Regions from separate parts of the Homo sapiens genome. Here all the other regions are linked to region 1. Evidence: promoter capture Hi-C in 16 types of primary human blood cells and fetal thymus (Javierre and others, 2016). All regions are on one chromosome and are shown on one strand. The core of a region is centred on a gene start or on the middle of the fragment in contact, and the rest is flanking DNA. Distances in the headings are between cores, read along the strand shown. Region 1 holds the start of CLDN11 (claudin 11). Region 2 holds the start of RPL22L1 (ribosomal protein L22 like 1). Region 3 has its middle 19 kb from the start of RPL22L1. Region 4 overlaps LOC105374211 (a long non-coding RNA gene). Region 5 overlaps LOC105374211 (a long non-coding RNA gene). Region 6 has its middle 110 kb from the start of RPL22L1.

Evidence for each region. The method cuts DNA at HindIII sites, captures the fragments that hold promoters and counts their contacts. A CHiCAGO score of 5 or more calls a contact.
Region 2: the fragment with the promoter of RPL22L1 here is called in contact with the fragment with the promoter of CLDN11 in region 1 in 2 of 17 cell types (erythroblasts and M0 macrophages); the score reaches 5.9 in erythroblasts.
Region 3: a fragment that was not itself captured here is called in contact with the fragment with the promoter of CLDN11 in region 1 in 3 of 17 cell types (erythroblasts, M2 macrophages and endothelial precursors); the score reaches 6.6 in erythroblasts.
Region 4: a contact is called between a fragment that was not itself captured here and the fragment with the promoter of CLDN11 in region 1, in 4 of 17 cell types (M1 macrophages, M2 macrophages, endothelial precursors and 1 more). The highest score is 7.2, in M1 macrophages.
Region 5: a contact is called between a fragment that was not itself captured here and the fragment with the promoter of CLDN11 in region 1, in 6 of 17 cell types (M1 macrophages, M2 macrophages, endothelial precursors and 3 more). The highest score is 10.0, in M1 macrophages.
Region 6: a fragment that was not itself captured here is called in contact with the fragment with the promoter of CLDN11 in region 1 in 4 of 17 cell types (endothelial precursors, M1 macrophages, M2 macrophages and 1 more); the score reaches 6.9 in endothelial precursors.

The regions. Positions count from the first base shown.
Region 1 is chr3:170,417,392-170,420,489 of GRCh38, forward strand. CLDN11 (claudin 11) reads left to right here and starts at 1,477. Exons shown (of 3, transcript NM_005602.6): 1 at 1,477-1,901. The coding sequence starts at 1,676. RefSeq lists an enhancer at 1,225-2,177. The HindIII fragment of the contact is 15,613 bases long and covers 1-3,098 here.
Region 2 is chr3:170,868,622-170,871,719 of GRCh38, forward strand. RPL22L1 (ribosomal protein L22 like 1) reads right to left here and starts at 1,574. Exons shown (of 4, transcript NM_001099645.2): 1 at 1,538-1,574. The coding sequence starts at 1,546. RefSeq lists enhancers at 1,067-1,116, 1,286-2,012, 2,013-2,738. The HindIII fragment of the contact is 15,380 bases long and covers 1-3,098 here.
Region 3 is chr3:170,850,145-170,853,242 of GRCh38, forward strand. No RefSeq gene overlaps it. Among named protein-coding and RNA genes, the nearest start is that of RPL22L1, 19 kb to the right of the region's middle. The HindIII fragment of the contact is 2,377 bases long and covers 374-2,750 here.
Region 4 is chr3:170,831,554-170,834,651 of GRCh38, forward strand. All of the region lies in intron 2 of LOC105374211 (a long non-coding RNA gene), which reads left to right. Among named protein-coding and RNA genes, the nearest start is that of RPL22L1, 37 kb to the right of the region's middle. The HindIII fragment of the contact is 3,319 bases long and covers 39-3,098 here.
Region 5 is chr3:170,793,849-170,796,946 of GRCh38, forward strand. All of the region lies in intron 2 of LOC105374211 (a long non-coding RNA gene), which reads left to right. Among named protein-coding and RNA genes, the nearest start is that of RPL22L1, 75 kb to the right of the region's middle. The HindIII fragment of the contact is 5,465 bases long and covers 1-3,098 here.
Region 6 is chr3:170,759,598-170,762,695 of GRCh38, forward strand. No RefSeq gene overlaps it. Among named protein-coding and RNA genes, the nearest start is that of RPL22L1, 110 kb to the right of the region's middle. The HindIII fragment of the contact is 1,024 bases long and covers 1,111-2,134 here.

The sequences.
Region 1 (3,098 bases), core at 227-2,726:
CTGAAATCCTCACACCTTTAAGTCTCATGATTGGTGAGGAGGCAGTGGTCCAAGGGAATGGATAGAAGGAGATAATAAGATAAGCCAAATGTTTCAAAGGGAGTGAAAACTGTTGAATGTAAATGCAGCTCAAGGAAGACTTCCCTATCTGAATAAAAAGGTGCAAATAATGCGGCCTATTTGTATGCATGGTGGCTTAATGATGTTGATGGTGATGATGATAGCTTTACACTATCAGAGCGCTCATTCTGGGCTAGGCAGTTTTCTCAGTGGGGTACAGATATTAATTTATTTACAGTGAGCCAGAGAAGTCTGCTGTAGCTTTTAATGCGTCTAAAATGGGACACATGAACCCCTTAGGAATTTTCAGACTGATCAGGACAGTTTCCTAGAAACAGTTCGTGAAAGGGATGAGATGGGCCCATGGTATCTACCCCTTCCTAGCTGCGTGAACTTGGGCAACTCAACCTTCTTGTGCTGTTTCTCTATGGCTAGTGCGTGTAATTTGTTGTTGTTGTTGTTGTTTGCTTTTGAGACGTTGTCTCACTCAGTTGCCCAGGCTGGAGTGCAGTGGCACGATCTTGGCGCACTGCAACCTCCTTCAAGTTATTCTCCTGCCTCAGCCTCCCAAGCAGCTGGGGTTACAGGCATGCGCCACCATGCCCGGCTCATTTTTGTATTTTCTGTAGAGATGGAGTTTCACCATGTTGGTCAGGCTGGTCTCGAACTCCTGACCTTAGGTGATCCGCCCACCTTGGCCTCCCAAAGTTCTGGGATTACAGGTGTGAGCCACCACTCCCGGCCTAGTATGTGTCATTGACAATTGTTCCTACCTCAAAGGCTGTTATGAGGATTAAATGAGCTAATGCATGTAAAATGCATCTGCATAATATATAACACAGCTCGATAAATGTGAGTTGCTATTGTTGATTATTATGGCCACGTTTGCCGCTGATGATGTTCAACCACTGAAAAGCATCGTTTTCTTTCTTCTAGTAACTGTGTGTACTGAATGCCTCGCGTTTGTCCCTACTGCACTTTTCAGTCTGTCACAATCCTGGGTCGTCGGGGGACTGTACCGAGCGCCCTTGGAGTGCTCGCAGCAGGGAAGAAGGAGCGAGCAGGGAGGAGCTGAGGAGGGTCGGAGCGGAATGGACACCCAGAGACTGAGATGAGAGAGGGGCTATAAGAAGAGAAACCAGTCGCAGGAAAACAGAACTCTCGACAAACGCACGCCCTCTTTGCGCTCTCCGTTTCTCTGGACCTGGATGGAATTGTTTTACTTTGCATCGCCGGACTGCGCTGCGGACGGGGTGGGGCGGCCCAATGGCCCCCCTGGGGTTACTCTGCTCCCCTTCACGCTTCCCTCCCGGCCCCGCCCCGCGATTGGCCGGCGCGCCCCGGGGCTGCCGCCGATTGGTGCTCGCCGGCCGGAGCCGCGGGGCTTAAAGAGGGGGCGGGGGCGCGCTGCCCAGCAGCGCTGCTGTCCCCGCCGTGCGCCCTTCGCCGCTGAGCTCGCAGCCTCCGGCGCCCACCTCCACCTCCAGTGTCCCGCCTCGGGCCGTCGCCCTCCAGCGGCTCGCGAGCGTGGGAGACGTACCTGGGCAGGCACTGTCCAGCCCAGGCCCAGGCACAGCCGTGAGGGGCGAGGCACGGGGACATCCTGGCGGCCACCATGGTGGCCACGTGCCTGCAGGTGGTGGGCTTCGTCACGAGCTTCGTGGGCTGGATCGGGGTCATCGTGACCACCTCCACCAATGACTGGGTGGTGACCTGCGGCTACACCATCCCCACCTGCCGCAAGCTGGATGAGCTGGGCTCCAAGGGGCTGTGGGCCGACTGCGTCATGGCCACGGGGCTGTACCACTGCAAGCCCCTGGTGGACATCCTCATCCTGCCGGGTAAGGACCCGAGCTTGGCGGCGGCTCCCAAATCCTTATCCTCTGGGTAGAGAGCGGGATATTAGACGGCGTCACAGAGACATTTTGGGGGCTTGAAGACCTTTGGGTACGTTTTTGACATCCCTAGTCCCACCTTGTTGTAAAAGAATTAGGCAGCCCCGAACTTAACTTCTCTAGGCCGCAGTATTCTTATCTGGAATTTGAGATAATAGTGGCAATGTGGCCGGTGGTAACACTGGCCGGGTCCCTTTGAGAATGAACAAACCGGAACACCTAATAGGAACTGAGTCCGTGTTAATTACTGCGGTCCCAGCCCGCATCCTTCCACCGTCCGCTTCCCGAAGTGCTTCCCGCTCCCGCCCGGCCTCCCCCGGGGCGCCGAGCCTTCGCGTTAGGTTCCGCCCGCAGAGGTGAGAAGGAGCGTGTAACACAAGCTGACAGGAGAATCGAACCGGCTCAGGCTGAGTTTCTCGGTCCTCATGGGATGGGCGAAGCGCCCCCGGCCAGGTTAGAGCCCTCCTAGCTCCGTCCGCGCAGCCGCTGAGCAATTCACGTCCAGGGCTCTCTGGGCTGCCTGGTTTGGGAAATGTCACGTTGATTCCCGCACGTGCCCAGGGCCATCTCCGCTGCCCCCGCTACCCCCGCCCCTGCTGTGGGCGCGTCAGACTGCGGGGCTGCGGTGACGCCGGCTCCCGCTCCGCGCCGCTGGGTTGGATAGGGACGAGCGGGCGCTCCTCGGAGGGCGGACTCCACTGGGGAGATACGGAGCGCGCCGCCGAGGGTCGCTCGCCGCCACCCCTCCAGCGTGTCTCAGATTGGGAAGGGGAGGTAAAAATTGACAGCCTAGCGCCGGCCAGGGGCCACATTTTCACATGTGTCCTGTGGAAACATTTTGGGCGACAGCCTCAATTCAGATTTAAACCAATGGGTTGGGCAATGGCGAGGTCGCGGGCACCCCCTTGGTTTTCTGCTGGAATCTCTGCTCTACCCCCAAGGCATGTCCCTACAAGGTGGGCTTCTGTCCCCCAGCCTTCGTGGATTGTGCTCACTTAAAGGATTTTCCCGGTTTCCTCAAGATGGGGAGAAACCTGTCCCTGAAGCCGCCAGTCAGATAAGACTGTGCTCGCCCCTTAAGCCTCCTCCAAGCACGCCCTATTTCCGGTCCTCGCAGTCGGAATCTGAATCCCTCCTTTCTCC
Region 2 (3,098 bases), core at 324-2,823, 450 kb after region 1:
TTCTATACTACCAATGATCAATTTTAAATTATCGTGCTTTTCTGCCACCCCACTGCAGATGGGAATAGGTTAGTATACTGCCTAGCCCAAGCTCAGGTAAGTGCCAGAGCTAGGATTCCACCCACCTATGTCTAGAAAATTCAATTCTTACGTTATTATAGGCAAGGGAAGGGGACTTTGGTAAAAAAAAAAAAAAAGAAAAGAAAAGAAAAAGAAAAAATAAAAATAAAAAAGGCAAGGTGCCGTCCCAGCACTTTGGGAGGCTGAGGCAGGAGGATCACGTGAGGTCAGGAGTTCAAGGCCAGCCTGGCCAACATGGTGAAACCCCATCTCTAGTAAAAATACAAAAATTAGCCAGGTGTGGTGGTGCATGCTTATAATCCTAGCTATTCAGGAGGCTGAGTCGGGAGGATTGCTTGAACCCGGGAGGCGGAGGTTGTAGTGAGCCTGATCATGCCACTATACTCCCACCTGGGCAACAGACTCTGTCTCAAAAAAAAAAAAAAACCTAAAAACCAACACCGTGGAACTTAAATTTTCCATATCCAAACCTTTTATACCAAGACCATATAATATGGCTACATAAGCAAAATGTTACTGTGGCCAGCAACCATGTACATTCACTGCAATATGAACAAACAAATCTGTATTTATCAGACTATAACCTCCAATTTAGATTCACCCAAGTGGCTACCAAGTATTACACATTAGTTTGCTTTCTCAGGTAGCATGGTAACATGTGCCAAAAGATAATTACCCAGTTGGCGCAGAAGTTAATTTGGGAGACACAAACAACTTCTGTCTAATGGAACAGATAACCCTATAGGGTTTATGGCCATGCTGGGCATTACCCAGTTTTGTAGCTAGCCCAGCAATTTTATCCTAACTTTATTTGTAAATTGCGCATGTATATCTAGCTTTTCAGATATTCTTAGGAACATTTTAACATCTTACTGGTTCCCTTACTAATGACTTAAGTAAAACATCTGAAGCACGTTTATTTCACATTGCTGGAATCTAGACTTATACTTTTCTAAAAATTACTTCACCGAGAAACTTCTTCCCCAACTGAAAGTTCTCAAAAACTTGTGATGTCGGCCATCGCGGGAGCTGAGCGCCTAGGAGCTCCCTCTGGCCTGGCAAAGGTCGTCAGACCGGCCCGATTACCCACCATTCCCCTACCCAGTGCTGAGTGGCAAAAGCATTATCAGGCGCGAGATAGTAAAGAAATGGCTCAGATTGCAGTACCACCGGCCCATTTACAGTTGTGCCTCCCTCTTTCCCGCGTGTCCAAAACCACCCATCCTAAACCAATTCCGGGCCCAGCTCCAACTCCACTAGACCTCATGGCAGCTGCCAGGGAGTCTCGAAAAACAGTTCAGGATCCTCGCGTCTTGGTTGTGTTTCTGACCCAGACTTCACTACTCCCCTCCCTTTATCTTGACTGAGACGTCTCCACTCGACAGATGCAAAAATCGTTACAGCGGAAATCATTAAATTGCCACACAACACTCCCACCAAGACATCGCTCACTCACCGGCGCCATCTTGCGAGTCGGCCGCGAGAGCAGAGAGGAAGCTACGGCCGCGCGGTCTGCATTTATATCAAAGCGTGCTGCGTCACGCGCTGAGAGCGTCAGATTGTCGCCTCCCGGAAAAGAAAGCGGGAGGAGCGCTGAGGCCGGTAACCCAGGAAACCAGTGCGCTGCCGGACGAGAGTAGGCCATCGGCTTTCCGCGGGCACACGCGGGTGGCTGTGGTTGAACTGACTCTCGGGTTTCCGCTCCTGGCTGTTCAAGCCGATTAATTGCAGTGGCCTCTACAGTTACCTAGTGGCTGCTCCCGGATACGGACGCACGCGAGGGATGCAGGAGTCATCTTTCACTAATCACCGGAATCCCCTTTCCAATCAGGGCAAGGCAGTGTCTCAGGTTGCTTTGGGATCTCCTTTTATTGCAGTTATAATCCTCCAGCGAAAAAGTTATTTGTTTGTGTTTTGTCTGTGAGCCTCGTTTTCTAAATGACTGTTGAGGGAAATTGGTGCTTCGGGGACCAGGTCCTCGGGAAAAAAAAATCATGTATATATATGCTTACACGCCCACGCCTGTAATCCCAGCACTTTGGGAGGCCGAGGCCGGAGAATCTCTTGAGCCCAGGAGTTCGAGACCACCCTTGGCAGCGTAGGCATAGGGAGAACCCGTCTCTACAAACAATTTTAAAAAAAATGGCCCGCGTGGTGGTGCGCGTCTGTACTCCCAGCCACTCGGGAGGCTGAGGCAGGAGCATCGCTTTACCTTGAGAGGCGGAAGTTGCAGTGAGTCGAGATCGAGCCACTGCACTCCAGCCTGGGTAACAGTGAGACTGTCTCAAAGGGAAAAACACGTAGTGCTTGCTTCTTGTTCATTCGTTTGGTATAATTTATCATGGGTTTTACAGTTAATCCCAGGTCTCTTGATTTCCATCCAAAATGCTCCCAGTTAAAATTCAATGAATGTTTGCTGTGACCTATCAGTATGTACAAGACACACGAGGGTGGAAGTGTCTTGCTGACAAAAGGAAAAAGTAGCTTTTGAGCTTTGAAGGATTGTAAATTGACATCAGATCCGAAAAGTGGCATGCTGAACCGCTTGGGTTTAGCAGTAATATGTTTTCGTGGAGATGAAATTATCATACCTAGGGGTAGGGGTAAGGGATGGGGTGGACTTTGTTGTTAATTTGAAGAATGACCCCAGAAAGTAAGAACTGTTCGTGGCCTTTATGCCAGCAAGTAGTTATCGTGGAAACTATGCTTTAATAGAGCATATGACTTGTAGAGTCTGAAGAGAGGCCCTGAATTCCTAGAAGAAATCCATTTCAACAAGATTTTTTAGTTGTCTGCCTTAAGAGCTACAATAATCACATTTCTCTTTCCAAACATTAAAGGGAGCAATTGGCATTTCCTCCTCAAGGGCTGCCTAAGCTGAGGGGCAGAAATGATTCTATTTTGCTTGTCTTTAGCAGTCTTCCATGTCTTGACAATAAACTCCTTAAGCACTATTAAGCCATTTGTACAAGGAGGATATGGAAACATACCTGTTTCACAAGAACTAGTAATCACCA
Region 3 (3,098 bases), core at 312-2,811, 430 kb after region 1:
AATTTCTTCCTTACTCTCACTCCACTCTAATTTTTCAAACTTTTCCTCCAATGTTCCCCATACCCTTCCACTCATGCCATGTACTATAGCTCTATTTCCTCCTGCTCATACCTTTCTGCTTTGAAGAAGTGGAAAAAACAGGCTGTGGAATCAGACCAATTGCAAGTGGTTCCAATTCCAGCTTTGCTATTTAGTCATTCTGAGTCTCAATTACTTCATTTATAAAATGTATCAGTAGAAAATAAGATAATATATTTAAAGCACCTGGTGCTACATCTTGTGCATAGTACTGAACCAACCCTTTATAGTCTCTCTGTCAGCACCACACAATCTTGATTACTATAGCCATTTTTCACACCATTTAGAAGAGAAAAGCTTTAATTCTAGAAGTACTTAAGTAGACATTCTGCTATACTAATTTTATACACAAATAAGCTGTGTCTTCCTTGTTTAAGGTATTTGAGTAAGAACAGTTATAATCAAAGGTCAATTTATCCTGAATTTATTTTAAAGATACCTCCCTCTTGAGGGCATTACTATATATGACTCAGTATACTGTGAACTTGAGCACCGTGATATATATATTACTGGGTGGAAATGGAGGTAAACTAGTACAGACATCTTGGAGGACAATTTGGCAACATCTATTAACATTTAAAAACCCATGAGCATAAAGACTGTACAAAAACTGTACAAAAACTGTAAACTGCCTAAATTTCCAGCACTAAGTGACCAGGCAAATAACACACAGTAAAACACACAATAAAATAACATGTTACTACTAAAAATGGAAAAATCTATATATACTTACATGGATTATATCCAAGACATATCTGCATAGACATACTTGTACACACATAAAATAAAAATACCTTCAGATGAATGCTGGTAATAGTCATTGTCTTTGAGAGAAGAAACGGGTCAGTAGGCTTCAGGGAAAGGAAGGAATACTTTTCACTGTGTACTCTTTTACAATAGAAACTGATTTTTAAACCACCTATATGCATTATATATGCATATATAATATTTAAATTATATATAAAATTTTTGAAATAGGACTTACACATAGAAAGTGAACAAATCATAAGTGTTAAGAACATCTTTTTAATAAAGTTAACATACCCACCTACAAAACACTCATATCAAGGAGAAAAGCATTACCAGTATATGTTTACAGGAAAATTCTGGTATTAATTTACCTTTACTACTTCAGTATGTATATCAAAACAAACTAAAAAATAACAGTAATATCATAATCACACTGAGTAAAATGAACAATAGTTAGGTTTTAGAATATGTAATGCTTATATTTTTTAATACCCAGTTCATGTTCAATTATCTTTGCTTATCTCAAAAATATCTATTTGCATTTGGTTTGTTTGGATCATTTTCCAAAAAGTCCCCATATTACATATGGTGATTTTTCTCTTAAATCTCTTTTGTTCTATAACTGGCCCACCCTCTTCTGTTAATGCTATTTCTTTGTCATTGGAGAAACTGGTCATTTATCTTGTAGAATCTCTTACATTCTGGAATGGCTGATTAAATCCTCCTGGTATCATTTAATATGTTCTTTACCCACTGCATCTTTTGTAAACCATCAGTTAGATCTAGAAACTCATATGCTTTCTTGAGTTGGTAAATAAAAGTACTCTATGATCCACTACATTTGAGCAAAGCTACATATTTGGGGGAACCGATGCATGGAGAGTCACAAAGACCTGAAAAATTCCCAAAGCAAATAAATGTTTAGTTTGCTTAACTGTCCATTTCCCATGTGTTATTTTGTTGTTACTGTACTACTTACTATGTTCACATGGAACTACAGTCCTGTTTTATGCACTTTGATAAACACTGGAGCAAAAGATCTGTATGGTCTTCTCAAAATCCTATGACTTTTCATGGTATGAGACATATTGGCTGGGCACAATGGCTCACTCCTGTAATCCCAGCACTTTGGGAGGCTGAGGCAGGAGGATCCTTGAGCCCACAAGTTCAAGACCAACCTGGGGGATATAGCGAGACCTCATCTCTACAAAAAAAAAAAAAAAAGAGAGAGAGAGAGAATAAAAATTAGCTGGGTTTCATGGCACATACTTGTAGTCCCAGCTACTTGGGAGGCTGGGGTGGGAAGATCCTTGAGTCCAGGAAGTGAAGGCTGCAGTGAACTGTGATCTGCACTCTAGCCTGAGTGAGACAGCGAGACCCTGTTTCAAAAAAAAAAAAAGAGAGACAGAAAGAGACATACTGCAGATGCTCATAAAAGTTCGCTGATTGATTAATCCAGCAGTCACGTGTTGTGTTTTCTATTTATAGTGTACTGTACTCGAAACCACTATTCCTGTCCTTAAGAAATAAGATTGAGTTGATAAATCAGCATGTGTTCAGGCAATAAACTCACATGCTTATTTAAAGCATATGGCAGTTTAAAAAAAAAATCCACTGTATGTGTTGTGGATTTATGGAGTGGCCTGTTGGGTTTCATGAGGAAAGCTCCAAAAGAGAGGTCAGCCTTGGAGTACATCAACAAGCATTCACAGCAAGTCAGACCTGGAAACACACACACACACACACACACACACACACACACACACACACACACACAGAGCGAGAGAGAGAGAGAGAGACAGAGAGAGAGAGAGAGAGAAACAGAAATCTGCTGGTTTAATCTCTTAATTTATAGAAAACAGGAAGCCTAAGGACAGGAAAGGATTCTTATAGCTGATGAGACCCAGACATTCCTGCTGGTAAGCTTAGTGCACTCCCTTAGTAGGTCCAATTCAAGATTATTTTTTTGTAGGTAAACTGTTTTGTTTTGTTTTCTCTTCCCTCTGGAAGCTTTTGGGATTTTCTTTTTATCCTTTGGAGTACTGAAACTTCTTCAGGAAGTTATGAGCTTTTCCCTTCATCCTACCTGGCCTACCTCGCAATATGAGGATCCAGATTTTCTTGGGCGGAGGGAAACTTTCTTCTGCTACTTGCATATCTGTCCTGGGTCACTTGTTTTAATTTGTTCATTCCAATCATTTTCTTTGATACTGTTGGTTCTACTCATTTTGAGTGAACCTTGGTTGCCTTTCTACATTTATGAATGAAAG
Region 4 (3,098 bases), core at 448-2,947, 410 kb after region 1:
ATGCTTCCTGAACGTTAATGTGCATATGAATGACCTGAAGCTTTTATTAAAATGTATATTTTAGACTCAGCGGGTCTGTGGTGGGCCTGAGTTTCTGCATTTCTAACAAGTGACCAGGTTATGCTGATCCTGCTGATGCACAGACCACATGTTGAGTAGCAAGGACCTAACTACTCCATTTGTGAGGTCCTTGGCTAAGAGGAGGAACTGTAATAACACAAGAGACTAATTAGCTGGGAGTAACAGTAAGCATTTCTGCTGAGTGTTATCATCAACCTCAACAGTGTAAGTTGTTAAAATATTATCTTAATTTGGAGTCTGTTTGTTTTCACGTTTTTCGGAAAACAAAATATTTTAAGTGGTATGTGTGTGTTATTGTTTTGTGCATGAGCATATGTTATATTTTCCCTTTCTTAGCCAAGTTTTTGCTTAAGTACAAAACTACTTCCTAGGGAGCATGACACGGGGGGATAAGCAATACTCCTCACCATGGCAGTGGTTCAGAGGCAGAGCACAGAGTTGAGAACCAGACAAGGCCATGAAAAGGCATGGAGGAATCTTTACCCATCAATGCTTCCCAGCCTGGGCCAAGCTGTCTTCCAAGATCTCATCTTGACCAGTCCTTCTCAGACTTGTTTCAGAGGCTGAGTGCTCAGAAATCACGATACTCCCTGCAAGACACAATGGGTAAAATGCTGGTATACGTATGTAATGATGATACAACTTCACTGACAGAAAATATGGCTCTAATAAGTGAATGTAACAAAATAACACCTACCTCTAAGTCCTTTTGGAAATGAAGCTGAGTTTCATTATTGGTAAAATGAAGGTAATAACCCCTATCTCACAGAGAGAGACCACTGATCCTTCAGTTCGAATCAAAGATATGCCAAAGATTTTTGCTTCTAGTGCTTGTGTAGCAATCACCGTAAGACAAATGGCACAGCAAGCAGGACTTCACTGTTACTGGCTGCCGTTTATTTAGCATCTATCATACACCAGATACTATGCTAAGGGCCTTACGAACCTCTCATTAAATGTGACAAGAACTCATTTAGGAAAACATTTTTCTCTATTCTAACAATGAGAAACGCTGAGATGGTGGTATCTTGCTAGCTCGCTAGAAATTTACCTTTTTTATCAAGAAATTAAGATGTAGCTTTTGACCAGACACATCCCCATAGCAGTATTTCTTAATCTTTTTTTGTGTGTGTGTCACAATCCCTCTGAAAATCCACCAAAGGCCATAAACCTTCCCAGAAAAATGCACATAAGCAAACACAGCACTTTGTATTCAACTTCAGTGGGCTCATGGGCCCCAAGAAAGGACACGGTGCTGCTGAGTGGAAGACGAGGAGGGCTTTAATAGTCTTCAGGCTGAACTTGAGCTGTCCTTTCAAGCACTGATCTGAAATGTTTTCCTTAGCCATTTTCCTGACTATTATATTTTTCAAATATTTATATTGATAAAAGATAAAACAAACCCTAAAATGTCAAAAATACTCTTTGGCAACAGGTAGCCTATAGAGTTTCCCCCCTTTTTTTTTAAACCATCAGTCATCAAAAAGACTTTCTATTCTGAATAGACAATACCAGTTCAGATTAGCAAACAACCCAGAGAATACTTGTTTCTCTTTCTTAGTATCTGAATGAAACAAGATACTTAACACAAAACAACATTGTTGCTCCCTCCTGGTTTCTTAACATAAGAAGAGGCTTGAGCTGTTGACAAAAAAATACAGAGGTGAGAAATATAGTTGGTTTCTATAACCCCCAAATATGAAGATAAAAAATGTGGGAGGTAGGAGGAAGGAAGAAAGGGAGGGAGGAAAGAGAAATAAGAAAGAAGCAACCAGATATTTACATTTAGACTAATTTGAAATGGACTTTTATCATACATCTTGTAGATCCACATGTGCTCTCTGGACCAACAAAGTGTGCTTGTTGGACCAGCAGCATCAATATCTCCTGGGAACTTACTAAAATGCAGATTCTCAGGTTCCACCCCAGGCCTTTTGTATCAGAAACTCTGGGGGCGAGACCTAGCAGTCTGGTTTCTTTTTTTCTTTTCCTAAATAAGTTTATTTCCTAAAGACTCAATGTTTTAGAGTAGTTTTAGGTTCATAGCAAAATTGAGAGGAAGGTACAGAGATTTCCTATATACCCATTGCCCCTACAAATGCATAGCCTCTCCCATTATCAACATCCCCCACCAGAGTGGTACATTTGTTACAATGGATGAACCTACATGAACAGATCATTATCACCCAAAGTCCATACATTACATTAAGGGCTCACTCTTGCTATTGTACATTCTATTGGTTTGGACAAATGTCTAATGACATGTATCCACCATTGTAGTATTATATAGAATAGTTTCACTGCTCTGAAATTCCTCTGTGCTCTGCCTACTTATCCCTCTCTCCCCTTTACCCTTAGCAACCACTGATCCTTTTACTGTCTCCATAGTTTGTCTTTTCTAGAATTTCCTATAGTCGTAACTATACAGACTGTAGCCGTTTCAGATTGGCTTCTTTCACTTAGTAATATGCACTTAAGTTTTCTCCAAGTCTTTTTATGGCTTAACATTAGGTTGGTGCAAAAGTAATTGTGGGTTTTGCCATTAACCATATAAATAATGTCAAACATCGCGATTACTTTTGCACCAACCTGATAGCTCATTTGAATGGAATGATATTCCACTGTCTGCATCTACTGCAGTTTATTTGTCCATTCACCTGCTGAAGGGCATCTTGGTTACTTCCAAAGTTTAGCAATTATGAAAAAAACTGCTATAAACATTCATATGCAGGTTTCTGTCTAGACATAAGTTTTTAACTCCTTTAGGTAAATACCAGGGAGCATGATTGCTAGATTGTATGGTAAGAGTACACTTAGTTTTGTAAAAATTTGGCAAATTGTCTTCCAAAGTGGCTGTACCATTTTGCATTGCCATCAGCAATAAATGAGAGTTTTTATTGCTCCACATCCTCACCAGCATTTGGTGTTCTGGATTTTGGCCATTCTCATAGATGTGTTATGTTCAGCAGTCTGTTTTAACAAACCCTCAAGGTGATTCTGGTGCACTAAACATTGAA
Region 5 (3,098 bases), core at 351-2,850, 380 kb after region 1:
TTAATTATTTGTTCAATCATTTATTTTATTTTTTATTTTTTGGAGACGGAGTCTTGCTCTGTCACCCAGGCTGGAGTGCAGTGGCACAACCTCGGCTCACTGCAACCTCCACCTCCTGGGTTCAAGTGATTCTCCTGCCTCAGCCTCATAAGTAGCTGGGACTACAGGTGTGCGCCACCACGCCCAGCTAATTTTTGTATTTTTAGTAAAGATGGGGTTTCATGATATTGGCCAGGCTGGTCTCGAACTCCTGACCCCAAGTGATCTGCTCACCTCGGCCCCCTAAATTGCTGGGATTACAGGTGTGAGCCACTGCTCCCAGACTATTTGTTCAATCATTGATTTATGTCCATATGCATTCATGGATATTTATTTATACTTTGGGTTATAATTCAATACTACTTTATTTATGTTGCTCAGATTTTTCCAACTTTGGCCACTGGGAGCTCTTTTAGTTGACTTCTGTGTCCCTTTAACATATTGTCATCATTGTGGGTTTTTATATTTGAGCATTTTTTGACGTTCTGACATTACAAGATGCTCCAGGCACATATTGTGTATTTCTGGCTCTATTCCTAGAAGCAGCCATTTCTCCAAGGAGAACTAGTTCCTTTTATGGGAGAATGCTATTGGAAACCAATATCTGGGTGCAAGGTATGTTCATTGCTATTGGGGTGTCATTGCTTTTAGGTCTTCTCAGCTGCCAGAGCAAAGACATATATGTGTGTACATATTTCCTTGTGTATATACTTCCTTGTGTATATATACACATCTACACATATTCCTATATGTAACCATGGGTATCTATGTTAAGCCAAACATAAGTTCATACTGATATCTCCAACTTAATCTATTATCACAAGGATCATCTTTGCTTCCTTCCCTTTTAACCTCTCATTGCATCAACAAGAAACCTGGATCACATCATCTTCCATTCATTTGCTTAATTATTCAGTTTCAGTATACATGTATACTGGTTTGAGAATTGTTATCCTCTAACTCTGTAGGGGGAAAATGGTTATCAACTAGCATACTGTCCTTATGTATAGTTAATTTTACCCTTAGTTTTACAGACTCTACTCATTTCCAAAGTTACTTAGATCAGCATTCTAAGTAACCTCCTTAAATGAAGTGGCTACCTACACTTAAATAGAGTTAGATTGTTTTGTTATACTCTATATTCCATCCTGGGATCCTCTGACATTCTAAAGTTTTTAAAAACTTGTATACATAAAGGTTTACTTTTTGTGTTATAAATTTCTATGAGTTTTGATAAATGCTCATGCTCGCCTTGGCAGCACACATACTAAAATTGGAATGATAAATGCTTTATAACCTTCATTCACAATTACAGTATCATATAGAATAGTTTTGCCTTCCCAAAAATTTACCTATACTTTACCTGTTCGAACCTCCCGGCCCTACTCACCCACCCTCTGCTGAACACCTGGAAACCACTGACCTTTTACCATTGCTATGGCTTTTTCCTTTTCCATAATGTCATAAAATTGAAATAATATACAGCCTTTTCAGACTGGCTTTTTTCACTTAGCAATATTCATCAAAGAATTATCTATGTTTTTGCATAGCTTGCTAGCTTGTTCCTTTTTATCACTAAATGATATTCCATTGAATAGATGTACCACAGTTTGTTCATTTGCCTACTGAAAGACATCATTATTGCTTCCAGTTTGGGGGGAATTATAAGTAAAACTGGTATAAACATTCTCATGAAGGTTTTTGTATGGACATACATTTTCAAATCATTGAGTAAATACCGAATAGCGTGGTTACTGGATCATATGGTAGGACAATTTTTAGTTTGTAGGCAACAGCCAACCTGCCTTCTAAGGTTGCTGTATCAATTTGCATTCCAACCAGCAATGAGTGAGAGCTACTGTTACTCTGTTAGTAGTTTTTGTTTTGTTTTGTTTTAGCTATTCTGATTGGTATGCAGTGACTTCTCATTGTTGTTTAATTTGAAATTCCTTAGTAACAAATAATGTAGAGCATCTTTATATATACATATTTGCCACCTACATATCTTCTCTGGTGAGGTGTCTGATGAGGCCTTTTGTCTATTTTTAAATTGGATTGTTATTTTCTTATTATGTATTTTGGACGCAGATCTTTTATCTGATATGTGCTTTGCATATCGGATGAGTCTGAGACTTGTCTAATTTTCTTAATGGGTATTTTGCAGAGCAGAAATTTTTGTTTTTAAGAAAGTTCATCTTTTTTTTTTTTTGCATTACTATTGGTGTTGTATCTAAAAATTCACCACCAAACCCAAGGCTGTATAAATTGTCTCCTATTTTTTTCAAGGAGTTTTATACCTATGCATTTTGCATTTATGTTTATGATGAATTTTGAGTTGATGTTTGTGAAAAGTGTAAGGTGTGTGTTTGAGTTCCTTGCTTGCATATGGACACTCAATTGTTCCAGCACCATTTGTTGGAAAGACTATTCTTTTTCCATTGTATTGCCTTTGCTTCTTTGTCAAAAATCAGTTGACTATATTTGTGTGGGTCTATTTCTGGGCCCTGTAGTCTGTTTGACTGATCCTTGGGTCTATTCTTTTGCTAATACCATGCCAAAAAAGCAAAATAACTGTAACAAAATATGTCCACAACCTTTATGTTTTGTGTTGTAAAGTTCTATGAGTTTTGACAATTTGTATTCGCTATTGCAATATCATACAGAATAATTTTGCCACCCTAATAAAGTACTTGTACTTTGCTTACTTAAACCTCAACACCCCCCACCCTACACCTACCTGAATATTCTGGATAAGACCTAAATCAGTAGAGACATATAACATGTTCATGGATTAGATAACACAATTATTGTTATTATGTCAAATTTTTCTAAATTGATGTAAAGATTCAGTGCATACCTAATCAAAATACCAGTGTACTTTTGTGTTGAAAGTGATCACCTTAGTCTAAAATTTATATGGAATAAATAAATAAATAAATAAATAAATAAATAAATAAAAATAAAATTTATATGGAAATGTCAAGAACCTAAGATATCCAAAACAATCTTGAAAAAGAAGAACAAAGTTGAAGTATTCACACTTCATCATTGTAAAACTT
Region 6 (3,098 bases), core at 373-2,872, 340 kb after region 1:
CTCCCCAAGTCAACATCGCCTCTGAATTTTCTATTTCCTTTTGGCAAATAAAAGAAAAAGTAAGTAAAACATCTTAGTCTATGCATGACCAAAGGTTAAACCTTTATTGCTTCATTTTGATTGTATCAGCTTTTCAGGACAATGTTTTCAAGGCCAGAGCTTATTTTAATAGCTGTAATAATACCAGTATTTTCTGATAATAATGGCAAACACTTTTTTTGGCAAGCACTTTTAGTGTTTGTTGTGGTTGTGTGCCAGGCATGGTTCTCAGCAGTTTTCACTAATTCATTTCATCTTCACAACAACCCTATAAGGTAAATTTTATTATCGCCCTTTCTACAGATTGGCAAATGAGGCACAAGTGGTTTGGCTTGCCCCTAAACTACATAGACAGCAAAAGACTGAGGGAGAATTTGGGGAAGACAGTCTTGCTCCAGTTCATGCTCTTATTCACGGCACTGTGCTGACCTCTCAGTCACCACGCTATTTACTTTACATACATTGTCTTATTTAATCTTCACACAGTGTATGTTTTATTATTTATCTCTATTTTACAGGTGAGGAATGAAGCTCAGTGGTGTTTAGCAGTTTGGCCAGATTCCACTCTGGCAAGCTCAGTGAGACAGAACCAATTTCCCTTTCTGTTTCTTTTAGTAGATAAAGCCATTGACCCAGCGATGAGGCAACTCAGAAAATGCTCAGAATACCAATCATAGGATCTCCCTAAAAATCAAGTGATGTGGTCAAGAAACAAAGCCTAAATAGAGCTTCTCTGCCACTCTGCTATGTGCTGCTGCATTTCTCCATAGAAATGTAACTTTCACCACCACCACACAAAGCTGAACCAGTTACCAGGGAGCTGGGAAGCAAGACAGATAGCAGGGAGACAGGGGAACACTTTAGGGTTAGGCCATTATTTTCAGATCAGGTAGAAGAGTAGAGATGGTTAGACACACTCAGAGATTCTTTGACTCTGACTTCAGGCAGGAAGTAAAATCCAGTCTAATCAGTTAATAAAAGGCATTCATCAAAGAGATTCAACCTCACACTGTTACTTCAACAGGCATCTTGCCCTTGTGGAAAAACAGGCTTAATTTCCAAATCATTTTAAGCTTGAATATTGGTGCAATGGGGAGCTTAATTTGGGAGGTAATGAGACCACCAAAGGAAATTAGAATGATTAACTGGGGCACAGTGAAAGCATGGAGCTGTTGGTAAAGGAAAATTGTATTTGTAGAGCTATGTGGTGGGGGGCAAGAGGCACAGATGAAGAGAACAAAGAGGGAGGAACGACTCCTGAGACTGGTAGCAGGAGAACAGAAGGCTCTTAGGAACAGAGGAAATTTTTTAAAAATACAACTTTATGAAATGGGATTGCAGAGTATTATTCAGTTAGCATCAGGTAGGGTTTCATGTGGCAACAACCACAGCTGGCAACACATTCTTTCAGAAGCACAGACCCTCTGGTGGTTTTATTGCACTCTAAGGGGTGTTGTTGAAAATAACAAGTTAGATTTCTTCATGAGGTCATTGGCACTGCATATACCTGGGCATGCATTATGGTTCTATCCATCCTAACTCGGCAAGCAGTGGGTTTGGAATTCAGTCCTATAACTTCCTTTCTGTAAGATTTCCTTCTAAGGTATCCTGCAGGAACGATTACTGGCAAGAAATATTGACCCTTTAATGTGTCAGAACTGAATCAGGCCCCATTCTTTACACAGGGTTAATCACCCAGTTCTCATGCTCTGCCCCAGAGAACTGAGGCTGCCACAGTGTCCATGCCAGGCTGCTCACTGGACACAGAATGAAAGACAGTGCATTACAAAACTTTCAGGTAAACGTACATCCTTGGACTTCTATGAAGAAACAACAGAATAACAGGAATAACATTTTTCCAGTGGCATACAGATTGTACTCTGAGGACTCTGAAACCTGATATAAAGTCCATACTGGGGAAAAAAACATGGTAGTATTTGTAGGATGGGCCCTTGTTGCTATTTCACCTGGCCCATTTGTTTCCAGTCTGAAAGGGGTCTGGTAGGCTGTTTGGCAAATGGAATTGAATGATGATCACAGAATGAGAAATCCAAAAATCTGATTTGAATCCTCTGAAAAGTGCACTAGCCACTCAAGCTTCATGGTTTAAGATTTTGATTTTTAGAAACATATAGTGCGTCCAGAGGCACAAGCCAGAAAGCCAAGTGTCATGGACTCCTAGGACTCAAAGAAGTCCTTTGTGTTCATCCTTAAATTTGAATGTGGCTTTCAAGGTAACCGAGAAGATAGTTTCATTCATTTCACAAACTTTTAACTGAGAAACTTTTAATAACATTTATTAAACTTTTAATAACTTTTAAATTGAGAAATTCTTGTTTACATAGCATCTAAAATGCTAACTAGCTCTTCTTTTCTGACCTTGTTTCATTCTCCTTTTCCTTTCTCCTGTTTTTCATGTTTTCTTTTTCATTTTCTACTTTTCTTGACTACATTTAACATCTTTATATTTGTCAATGTTTAGAATAATCACCCTTAATATTTTGGTATTTCCCTATGTACACATATCCCAAAGGATCAGAATATTTATGACTTTATTCATTTTTGGCCCAACCCTGTATCCTGCAAATTTCAAAAACAGCTTTACACTGTTGATCCCTGTTCAAATCACAACTGTTTTCTATTATCCTCTTACTTCATAGATTGCGTATTGGAGGGCTGTCTTAAGTCTAATACCAGGCATTTACTCCAGTTTCAATCAATCTTTTTTTCTAATTGTTTTATGGTCACCCGTTCCAAATTGTGAGGTACCTGGTTGATTCATACTGGCATTGACACACTCAGGACAGAAACTTTCCATTCAGTGATTTAAATTATTGGTTTTTTTTAAAAAGGATACCAGAACTCAGTACTTTCTCCAAATGACACTCAACATGCCCCTTGATGCATAAACAGATCTCAAGATTATTACATTTACACAATGTAGTCAGCCTGTGAAGTATCATAATACAGGTAAAATAAAAATTAAAAAGCAGGCTAAGGGAACATAAAGGAAGAAAGAATTGCATCAAAGACAGGTTCACACATGAGTTGTGCCTTAA